Regions from separate parts of the Homo sapiens genome. Here all the other regions are linked to region 1. The links are contacts of gene promoters, found by promoter capture Hi-C in blood cells and fetal thymus (Javierre and others, 2016). All regions are on one chromosome and are shown on one strand. Each heading gives the region's core, a stretch centred on a gene start or on the middle of the fragment in contact. The rest is flanking DNA. Distances are from core to core; before and after follow the strand shown.

Region 1 (2,795 bases), core at 26-2,525:
CCTGGTCGCTTTTCCTTTGGGTTCTCCAATGGAATGGGTTTCTTAGACACAGCATCTTTCACAGCTTGCCTTAGTTTCCTCTGTTCTTTTCGGTACTTCTTGAGAGTGCTTTGTTGTTTAAACTGCTTATTTTTTAGCTTGTTTTCAAGTTTGACTTTACTAGTTTTTATTAACTTGCGAAAGCTTGGGATCTGTTTTTTATTTCTTCTCTAGAAAATAACAGAAAGAATACTGCATACCCAGAAACTTATTTTTTAAATCAGGTTAAAGAGAACTGATTACAAATTTCATTAGACCAATTCCACAATTTCAATGTCCCACAGCCACAGACTTGCATATAAAAGCTAAAACCAAACGATGGCTTTAATCCTACAGAAGAGCGCTACAGCATCAGTTATTCAATCCCAATTCACAGCAATTCAAAGGGTTCTACGATCCCCAAACAGGTTAAGAACCACTGATCTAGTAGTGGTAAGTGGCTATTCAAGGCTAGTTTAACACACCTGTAGTTTAACACATTCAAAGCAAAATGCTGGCTGTCTTTAATAAAACTTACATTTATCTACGATTTTATTACTTACAAAGTGCTCCAACAAATCACCTCTAACAGCCTAGTTGAGTACTGACTGCTGTTATCCTCACATTACTGATGAAGCTGCCAAAAGACCCATAAACTAAGGAGGGCAAAACTGAATTCGGATCTTTGGATTCCACTTCTCTTGCTGGTGACTCATTCAGAAATCCCAAAGTTAGTCCTGAACCCCAGGACTACCTCTTATTTTCTGGGAGAACCAGGACAAATCACTTGCTTTTCTATCTCTTTACCCTTCATGGGTACCGTGACTCACATTATAAACTCGCTGAGGGTAGGACCCTGCTTCTCATTTGTGAAAAACGAGTTCGAAAGACGGTCTTGAAAAATTCCTTCAAAGTATGAAATCCCACGCATGCAAAACTCCGTGCCTGTCTCTTCGTGATACTCTGAAGTGGTGCGCGCACACAGTGGGTAACCAAGGATGAGCTCGGTGTAAGGAATGGAAAGCCCCCAGTCTAAACCACCGCCCCCTAGACACGGGTGAAAACCTGCCTAAAAGCTAACTCAGGCAGTGACTCTATCACCCGAAGGGGCCCTAGGCCGCGGCGACCGGGCTTTTGAGGACACTTACCGCCTTCATCCTTAGGCCTTAAATGAATGCCGGCCAGACAAGTTCACCAGAAGCAGGGTTACTACAGAAATCCCGGGGAATGACACACGTGCCGAAGTCCCTACACTACCAGAGCCGGAAACGGCCTTCAGTCCCTCCCAATCCTCCGCCGCCGGAAGTGAGGGCGGGACTTCCGTAGACAGGTTCGGGCTCGCGCCCTCTCGCGGTGACTGTCTCGCGGCCCTGGACCGGTTGCCCCCCGGCGTGCGCGCGCGGACTGGCACGAGGGAAGCCCCGAGGGCGTCGGTGCCAAAGGCGGGAAGCCGGGCGGGAGGGGCGCATTTTGCAAGGTTATCTGAGTATGATTCTTTGACTCTCGCCCTATTTATTTCTTTTAAAACCTTGGGGAAATCGGGCTCCTCCTCTCAGAATGAGAGGACTTGGTTTTTTCGGTCACCTCATTGCATTTTGTGCCTCTCCTCACGTTGCTTATCTCATGCTGTTATAGATACTGATTTTCGTAGTCTTTTTCCTCCATACAGTCCTGAGGGCAGAAAGAAGCTTATTTTTTGTGTGTAATGCCTGCCCCTCGACGGACATTCTGGCCGTGTTTGTAGCATGGCGAATGATTTCTCATCAGCCTTGGTCACTTAAAAGTCTGTGATTCTTAGTGTTTTATTTTGCATTTTTTTTTTGCTTTAATTTTTAACCATTAGCTGATAAAGAACTGTATCCATGGCTGGGTGCGGTGGTTCACGCTTGTAATCCCAGCACTTAGGGAGGCAGAGGCGGGTGGATCACCTGAGTTCCAGGAGTTCGAGACCAGCCTGGCCAACATGGTGAAACCCTGTCTCTACTAAAAATACAAAAATCAGCCAGACATGGTGGCGTGCGCCTGTAATCCTAGCTACTCGGGAGGCTGAGGCAGGAGAATCGCTTGAACCCAGGAGGCAGAGGTTGCAGTGAGTCGAGATCACACCACTGCACTCCAGCCTGGGTGACAGAGCAAGACTGTCTAAAAAATAAAAATAAAAATAAAAAACTGTATCTGCATTTCAGTATCTTACAACTTTGGGTAAATTCTGTCTGCTTAGTAATTTCACCAAAGTCGTTTTTTGTTTTTGTTTTTTGAGACGGAGTCTTGCTCTGGCGCCCAGGCTGGAGTGCAGTGGCGCAATCTGGGCTCATTGCAAGCTCTGCCTTCTGGGTTCACGCCATTCTCCTGCCTCAGCCTCCCGAGTAACTGGAACTACAGGCGCCCGCCACCACGCCCAGCTAATTTTTTTTGTATTTTTAGTAGAGACGGGGTTTCACCGTGTTAGCCAGGATGGTCTCGATCTCCTGACCTCGTGATTCGCCCACCTTGGCCTCCCAAAGTGCTGGGATAACAGGCATGAGCCACCGCGCCCCGCCTAAAGTCGTTCATTTTTACAGGAAGTTTTATGGATTGCAAGAATAAGAGTATCAAAGTGCTTGTCTCTCAAAGACTTTTTTTTCTCAATAAATTTAAGCATTCCACTTCAAGTTTTTTGTGGGTTTTTTTGAGTCTATGATTTTTGAGCATGGCCCTGACACAGAGTCTGGCCTCGCAGTCCTGAGCAGGTGGGAAAACCCAGTAGTGCGGCTCAAAGGGTTCTGAGCCCCTTGAAT
Region 2 (2,700 bases), core at 65-2,564, 1.7 Mb after region 1:
AAAATACACAGTTAAGCGCTTAAAAAGTAATTTTAACCACTAGGAAATGTTAATGATTAACTCACATTTGTTTCTGTTTCACTCCATGACAAAGTCTATAGGACACCCTGCAGAGAGGAAAACTCACATTAATATACCCATAATTTTACTTTCAGAAGCTTCTGGTAATCAAAGACTTATTATGAGGTGTCTTCATGTTACCACTGCGCAGTAGCAAACTTAAAATATTCTAAAGATTAATCTATTTTCTCATTTTTTTAATGCTTTTGTTAAAATCTCAACAAGTACTAACATGTTATCTAAATTTAAACCTTAAAACAATAACACGACCCAATATGTGAACTCTGCCTATTAATTCTAAAACTTTTAATAATAGTTTGCTTATGTTTGAGACTTAAAACAATAACATACTGCACTACACCCATCTTAGATATTTTCTAGGATCAAAGTCTATCTGGAGCAGGGCAAGCTGTGGTTGAGGGTGGTTGGGTCAGCAGGTAAGAGCCTTATGACCAGCTCTAAACGCCTCCACGGTGAGGAGCACCTCGAGCTAACAGACCAAGCACCAAAGGGTGGAACAGCTCAAGGTTGCATTTAGGAGACTCCAGCCTCGGCCGCCCGTGACTCCTCGACGAGCCCCACCTCTCTCGGTTCCAGCATCCGGCCCGCCCCTTCCTCCCAGGCTACCACAGTATCGCCCGCCGAGCTCCCGGGCTGCGGGAAATGACGGAAACAAAAACTTGGTACACAAAGAAGGGCTAGGTCAGAAGTGAGGTCCCACCCTGGCAAGAAGGGCGACTTTTCTAGAAAAACTTAGCGGCAAGTTAACGGGAAGCGCGGCGACACAGTTCCTACGATTGTGGGGGGCACTCTGCCGCCAGGCAGTCTCATCCTTTGTCCTTTGAGAGGCCTCCTTGAAGCCGAAGGCTCTTAAGTGTCCCTGGGCAACCCTTGACTCGATCTCCATTACGGGCCCTCACTGACAGCAGCCATGACAGTTGCTTCCGGATATATTGAATCGCCGCGGCCAGAGTCTCCCGGAAGTGACGCAACGCGGAGGGATCCGCGTTCGGCAGTGGGAGACCGAAGCGAAGTGGTTCCCGGAAGCGGCTGCAGCTGGGCTGCTGGTGGCGGGGCGGGGGTAGAGTGGGGAGAGAGGTTGTGGGTCTTACAACCAACCAACCCCAACACGTTTTACGTGTTAGGCAGGCATTGTGCTGAACACCTCATTGGCAAGCCATTTAATCCCTTCCTTACAATCCCAGCAGTCAGAAATGTATCACTTACATTTTATATATGGGGAAACTAAGGTTAAGAGAGGGCAAGTAAATTTGTCCGAGATCGTATAGCTGGTACTTGGTGAACGTGGTCTAACCCAGACACCGCGTTCTCCCTGGTGACTCCATTTTGTAAAACCAGAGCTGTTGGCGCATGGCATCCTCGTAAGCCCCTTTAAGTTAGGCACTCTGTTGCCCAGAGAGGGGCCAACTTGTAGCCAGTATGCTCTTTATGGTGAACACAAGGCCCACGTGTGTGCCTGGGTCCCCTTGGCTGAACCTCGGATTTCAATTGGTTTCTGACACCTTGCCTTTGCAGCATTCTCCGTCTGCAGCGCTGGTTACCTGAGGAAACTGTCAATGATTGCTAGGCTCTGGGGAACATTTTAGCTCCGTTTAGGCCCTTTTAAATCCAGGACTAAGACAGTTGGAGGCCTCTCACCATCACCAGATACTCTAGCTGGCCTTAACAGAGGGCCAAGGACCATAATCTTGGACTTTCCACCAGACCAAGTGTTTGTTTGGCTTCTGTTTCTTTAGAATATGACTGAAAACCAATCTGTAGTTTGTTTAGTCTTCTTTCTGCATTGACCAGTACTCACATAATAAAGTGGGACTAGCCACTAAGGCTATGTTTTTGTAAAAACAAATTATGCCTAGAAAAACACAAGAAATACATCAAAATTAACAGTGATAGTGTTTGAATAGAGAGTGATTTTATTTTTTTCTCTCTGCTTTCTCTTTTGCATATCTGCTATAAAACCCTTTTAAAATAGAAAAATAAGCAAACTGGCTATGGTAAAAACATTTTTAATTGCCTGCTGTTATAATGACGGCAAAGGCATGTTGTCACATTTTGATAAATGACCGTCCTTGATACAAATCACGTAGAGAAATCCTGTTTGACTAGAAAAGCATTGGATTTTTGTGAGTCAGTGTATTCTCAAAATTTTCGATATTTTGTTTTGGTTCTATAATCCTCACAGGAAAAGTAAAAAAGCAAATTGATGTTTTTCACACACTTTCGTATGAGAGTATGCTACCACCAAAAGTCTTCCCTAAAACAAAGTTGCAGGGGTCAAGTCATGTGGGGCGTTTGGATACTTGAAATGGTGGAGAACAAATATAAAAAGCTATTTTTATTCTGGCTGCTTTGGGGTACAGTTTTAAGCAATTTATTTCAGACTGCCAAAGAAAGCTTCATTCTTTATTCACATACTCTACTTCCCACTATTGCTTATTAGTGACTTCTAAAGCAGTGACAAAACAAGTAAAAGAAGATAGAAAGGAAAAATGAGAAGGGATCACGGGAAGAAGAAAATGTGGAGGAACAAAGACAGATGGTGATATTGGGGTTACTTTGGAACTCCAGGGTAGCATGTAACAGCCTTCTTATCCAAGTCCTGGCACAGGCCTGGTTGCC
Region 3 (2,798 bases), core at 170-2,669, 1.8 Mb after region 1:
GTTGATTTTTGCCATAGAAACTGTAAATTAGATCATCCCTAGATACAGAAAATTGCCAACAAAAGGGGAGAATAAAATGTAGGTATGTTACACAACCAAATGTTTCCTGTTTGTTGCGTGAAAATAAGTATAATTACCAAATAAAACGTTTTATATCTGGTTTTATGGAAGGACAAAAGACAGTAACCACAATGAACACCCACTGTGTGCATTGATAATGTATGAACTTTTAAATGCTTCAATTTTTTGCCATGGTCACACTTCGGATTCTGTTCTAGTCTCTCTGGTAATAGTATGCTGTAATCCCAGAAGTTTCTATATTTTGAAATATTACAGAGGGACTATACTTTAGCCTAGATCTATAATTTGACTTCAGGATATGCTTTAAATGCCCTTTAAGTGTATTTTTGTTGTTTACTTTTCTGTTTATAGTTGTTTAGAATTGTTCTCATTGAGGCATTGTGACATTGCATACTTTAGAGCACTTAATACTACTTTTTTTTTTTTTCTTTAAATGATAGGAGACTTGAATCTTGCCCACATTCCTTCAGGTATGCTACTGAAGGTTTTGTGGCAAAGTGCTATTAGCAGAACAAAAAGGTTTTAACACCGTCTTGAAATTTTTATTTATTATCTGGTCCCAGGTGTGTAGGCTGTGAGTATTTCAGTTCTATATGGGGTATTGGCTTCTCATGGTGAGCAGTTTTCATGGCATATTAGATACCAGAAATGAGTATTAAGGGTTAGTATTGTGGTGGTAGGATAACTGAATTGGAACCGGATCCAGATATTATTTCTAGTTTTGTGACTTTGGGCAAGGCTCATTTTCTTTTTCTTGTAATAAATGAAGATACTGAGTTAGATTGATTCTAAGCTTTAGGTTGTGACTTTTGCAAATTTGTGACATGTTATCACTGGTCATCAATGATGTATGCTTAAGTGTATAGAAGTTTTTTCTTAGTTTTTTTTTTTTTTTTTTACATTTCTTTATACACCTAAGTTGAATGTGAAGTGTAATTGAACAGTTTTTGTCGTCAAAAGTTTTAAAATCTTGGTCTTCATTTCCAGATATCATCTCTTCTTTTGATCACTGTTCCTGATTGTGACATTGTGCAAGTGTTAAATTGTGTGCCTTTTGTTCCTGAAGAAAGAGGTATGGTAAAGATTGAAATACTGGAGTATATAGTCTATTAAGTAGTAAGTTGGTATGTTTTAATATTGGACTAAATAAAGTAAAATATAGGTTAAGTATCCCAAATCCAAAAATCCAGAATGCAAAATTTTTTGAGTGCTGACATGATGGTCAAAGGAAATGCTCTTTGGAACATTTTGGATTTTGAATTTTTGGATTTGAGATGCTCAACTGGTATAATGCAAATACTCTAAAATCCTAAAAAAGAAAAAGAAAAAAAGAATGAAACCCTTCTGTTCCCAAGCATTTCAAATAAGAGACACTCAACCTGTAGTTTTACATATACATGAGTTTTCATAAGTTATATAAGTTATAGTTTTATTTTATTTTTTGGCTAAAATAAAATACTTAAACATGAGTTTTCATTTTAATCTAAGCAAAAAAAGTAATTTTTGGTTTCATAGTTTATTACTTAACATTTTATTAGAAATCCAAATATAACTTTAACTATCATCCTTCTGAATAGAAAAGTGGCATTAAAGTCTTCTGGGTAATGAACAGTGGAGATAAAGGTGGTAGATAGATGTTTCAAAGCTATATGAATGGCCAGAAGATTGTGGTTTTGGTCTAGTAAGTGCAAAGCAATGTACCTAAAGAAAAATTATCTGATATGTGTTTATATTATGACTAATAGCATCTTCATTATGAATCAGGAAAGGGACTTGGGAATCACTATAGTGTTATGATTGGTTTCTTGAAGACAGTCATGTGAATGTCTGGGTGTAGACAAAAAAGGAGGAAAAATATGCCAACAAATCTATGGTATTATAAGGAAAGCTTTGGAAATGTAGTGGAAAATATTGTACCCATGTAAAAAAACATGTTTTTTCTACCCTCAAAACACAGATGTCTCCTACTCTTTGTGTTGGATAGGTCCTGGGATCTTTGAAATGCTAAGATTCTTGGATACCACAGTATCATAAAATTCCTCTAAATGCAGTAAGTATACACATAAGTATGACCGTAAATTAGGAATAAGATTATTTATGTAACTGCTGAAATAGCTGACATAGACTATACCACCTTACAGTATTGCTTTAATTATCATAATAACCGTGTTCTTCCCTGAACTTCACCAGCAAATGGATTTCTGTTCAGGGCCATTTTTTTACAAAGGCATGAATTTTTATTTTGTCAGAAAATAATGTACATTGAGTAGAGAGCAGTAGAGCTGAGTTGAGGTACCACGTTATCGTTTATGTCATTAAGTAACTTTTTCCTATATAATATTTGTTTGACTTCCTACCACGAGATTCACATGGGTACTGTGTTATTCCTGAAGAGATAAAGTAATTCTGAATGCTAAGAATTTTCCTAAAGGTTGAGCATCCCAAATCTAAAAGCCTGAAATCTAAAATACTCCAAAATCTGAAACTTTTTGAGTGCTGACATGAAGCTCAAAGGCAATCATCACTGGAACATTTTGGATTTTGGATATTCAGCCAGTAAGTAATGCAAATATTCCAAAATCCACAAAAATCTGAAATCTGAAACACTTCTGGTTCCAAGCTTTTTTGTTTTGTTTTGTTTTGTTTTTTTGAGACGGAGTCTCACTCTGCCACCCAGGCTGGAGTGCAGTGGCGCGATCTCGGCTCACTACAACCTC
Region 4 (2,700 bases), core at 31-2,530, 1.5 Mb before region 1:
TCAGGTTTTTTTTTAATGATTAGGAAAAAGAACATTTATGTGTCTGGTTTTTATTTTTATTTTATCAAAGAGGAGGCTAAAATGCTGGGCTCTCTGGCTTACTAGCAAATGCCTGATAACCCTAGTCGCCAATGCTAATGTTGATTGAGCTCTAGGCTAAACATAATACATATATTATCTTCTTTAATCCTCACATAATTTGGTGAGCTAGGGATTCTTATTGTCCTTAATTCACACTTGAAGAACGTGAGCCTTAGTCAAGTTAAGTAACTCCCTGAGGCCTGACATCTAGTAAGAGATGAGTTGGAATTTGAATTCAAGTAGTTAAATGCCAGACCAGAGCAGTTGCACTCTACAACCTCATTCTGAGGGAGGCGCTTTCCCAAGACAGGTCATTAGTCTGTAGATAAAAGGCGCAAAGTTAAGTTCCTAATGACTAAGAGTTTATTTACAAGTCAAATCCTTACTTTGCCAATTACTTTTATACTGGACACAAAATGCATCTCCTGTCCTGCTGGTCTTCCTGGTGTATCTTTCTTCTTCCAGGAGTCCTGAAAAGAGATTTTGGATTGATCTCTGGAAGTCAATATCCACTGCCAAAAAATAATTCCACATGCATCTGCAATCTGCCTGTCTGTGCCCTGCTACTCCGCAACCTTCTCAGTGCAGACGTTAAATCATTCACTCCTTGGGGCTGGGCGTGGTGGCTCATGCCTGTAATCCCAGCACTTCAGAAGGCCAAGTCAGGGCAATCACTTTAGGGAAGGAGTGTGAGACCAGCCTGGCCAACATGGTGAAAGCCCATCTCTACTATAAATACAAAAATTAGCTGGATGTGGTGACATGTACCTGTAATCCCAGCTACTCAGGAGACTGAGGCAGGAGAATCGCTTGAAAGCGGGAGGCAGAGGTTGCAGTGAGCCAAGATCGCACCACTGCACTCCAGCCTGGGCAACAGAGAGAGACTCCATCTCAAAAAAAAAAAAAAAAAAAAATCATTTATCCCTTGGATAGGCTTCCCCCACCCCACATTGACATATTTGATATATCTATGTCCATGATTAAAATGTACAGTTAGGGCCGGGGACGGTGGCTCACGCCTGTAATCCCAACACTTTAGGAGGCCGAGGCGGGCAGATCACCTGAGGTCGGGAGTTTGAGACCAGCCTGACCAACATGGAGAAACCCAGTCTCTACTAAAAATACAAAATTAGCTGGGCGTGGTGGCACGTGCCTGTAATCCCAGCTACTCCGGAGGCTGAGGCAGGAGAATCACTTGAACCCAGGAGGCGGAGGTTGCAGTGAGCCAAGATCACGCCATTGTTACCCAGCCTGGGTAACAAAAGCGAAACTCTGTCTCGAAAAAACCAACCAAACAAACAAAACAAATGTGCAATTAGTTATTTAGGACATTTAGCTTTGAATTCTTAGCTAAAACCTCCAGGTACTCACGGAACTGTCAGAAGTCTCAGAGGGAACCAGCAAAAACTGTTTCAGAAGGAGAAGTGGTAAATGGACTTCCTTCCATGTTCACTTGAATTTCGGGGAAGATACTGCTGCTTATGTTGAAGTAATCTCTATGGGCAGGTGTTGAAACAGGGCTGGCCTGAGGAGTGCCTAAGCAGGGCTGGTTTCCCAGAGCAGGGGCACTTGGAGCCAGCTTTGGAATAAAAGGTATCAGGACTGGTGAAGAAAAGGGGTAGAGTTCTAGGGAAGGAATGATCAGGAAAGTAATTCCCCAGCTGGAGACATTGGTCAAATAGGAAACTGGCCTGTGCCACATGCCCTGCTCTCCTCATTTTGCTCATTATCATAGTTCACCGCAGCCTCGAACTCCTGGGCTCAAGCAATCCTCCTGCCTCAGCCTCCCAAAGCTCTGGGATTATAGGTGTGAGCCACTGTGCTCGACCTAAGAAGTTCTTGAGAGGGGAAAATAACCTTTTGAAAATTGAAACTGAAACATAAAAAAAAGAAGACAAATTTTATCCCCTCCCACAAAAAGAATGAAAAGCTAGGTCTCTCTGCAGGAAATGGAAGACTGTCTTAGCTCAATGGATGTGTATAGCTGGAATCCATTGCTCTGAAGATTCCAGATTAATAGGAAGGAGGGCATTAGCAATGTTTTATAGGGCCCTTCCTAAGTTTGGTAGGCAGTGGGTCCCACTGATGCTCACATTCTAATCCCTGGAACCTGTGCATATGTTATTTTTACATGACAAAGGGGGTATTGCATATGTGATTAAGGTTAAGGACCCTGAGATGGAAGATTATCCTGGATTAAATGGTTGGGTCCACTCTAATCATATGGGTCCTTAAAAACTGAGCATCTTTTCCAGCCTAAGTCAGAGTCAGAGGAAGATGTGACCACAGAAGAATGGTCAGAGAGATGTAATGCTGCTAGCTTTGAAGATGGAGGAAGGGGGCCACAAGCCAAGGTATGTGGGTGGCCTCTAGAAGCTGGAAAAGGCAAAGAAACAAATTCTCCCGCAGAGTCTCTAGCAAGGAACACAGACATGCTGACACCTTGATTTTTAGCCCAGTGAGACCTGTGACAGACTTCTAACGTACAGAACTGTAAGATAATATGTCTGAGTCATTTTAAGCTACTCAATTTGTGGTGATTTGTTAAAGCAACAATGGAAAACTCATACACCATGGGACAGCAATATGAGGCAGACACTGCCATTGTCATTTACAGTC

Evidence for each region. The method cuts DNA at HindIII sites, captures the fragments that hold promoters and counts their contacts. A CHiCAGO score of 5 or more calls a contact.
Region 2: a fragment that was not itself captured here is called in contact with the fragment with the promoter of NOC3L in region 1 in 2 of 17 cell types (activated CD4 T cells and total CD8 T cells); the score reaches 9.1 in activated CD4 T cells.
Region 3: a contact is called between a fragment that was not itself captured here and the fragment with the promoter of NOC3L in region 1, in 1 of 17 cell types (non-activated CD4 T cells). The highest score is 5.4, in non-activated CD4 T cells.
Region 4: a fragment that was not itself captured here is called in contact with the fragment with the promoter of NOC3L in region 1 in 6 of 17 cell types (naive CD8 T cells, total CD8 T cells, activated CD4 T cells and 3 more); the score reaches 11.9 in naive CD8 T cells.

Annotation. Positions count from the first base shown.
Region 1 is chr10:94,361,664-94,364,458 of GRCh38, forward strand. It overlaps NOC3L (NOC3 like DNA replication regulator), which reads right to left and starts at 1,276. Exons shown (of 21, transcript NM_022451.11): 1 at 1,167-1,276; 2 at 2-209. The coding sequence starts at 1,175. RefSeq lists an enhancer at 950-1,209 and a silencer at 1,350-1,479. The HindIII fragment of the contact is 1,523 bases long and covers 182-1,704 here.
Region 2 is chr10:96,089,201-96,091,900 of GRCh38, forward strand. It overlaps ENTPD1-AS1 (ENTPD1 antisense RNA 1), which reads right to left and starts at 1,035. Exons shown (of 6, transcript NR_038444.1): 1 at 782-1,035; 2 at 66-107. RefSeq lists enhancers at 755-1,124, 1,135-1,184. The HindIII fragment of the contact is 2,317 bases long and covers 157-2,473 here.
Region 3 is chr10:96,131,518-96,134,315 of GRCh38, forward strand. It overlaps ZNF518A (zinc finger protein 518A), which reads left to right. Exons shown (of 6, transcript NM_001330736.2): 2 at 1,069-1,153; 3 at 2,066-2,131. It overlaps LOC124902486 (a long non-coding RNA gene), which reads right to left. Exons shown (of 2, transcript XR_007062254.1): 2 at 1-2,798. Among named protein-coding and RNA genes, the nearest start is that of ZNF518A, 2.6 kb to the left of the region's middle. The HindIII fragment of the contact is 1,095 bases long and covers 873-1,967 here.
Region 4 is chr10:92,844,579-92,847,278 of GRCh38, forward strand. It overlaps a transcript of EXOC6 not described here. Among named protein-coding and RNA genes, the nearest start is that of EXOC6, 2.6 kb to the right of the region's middle. The HindIII fragment of the contact is 3,318 bases long and covers 1-2,700 here.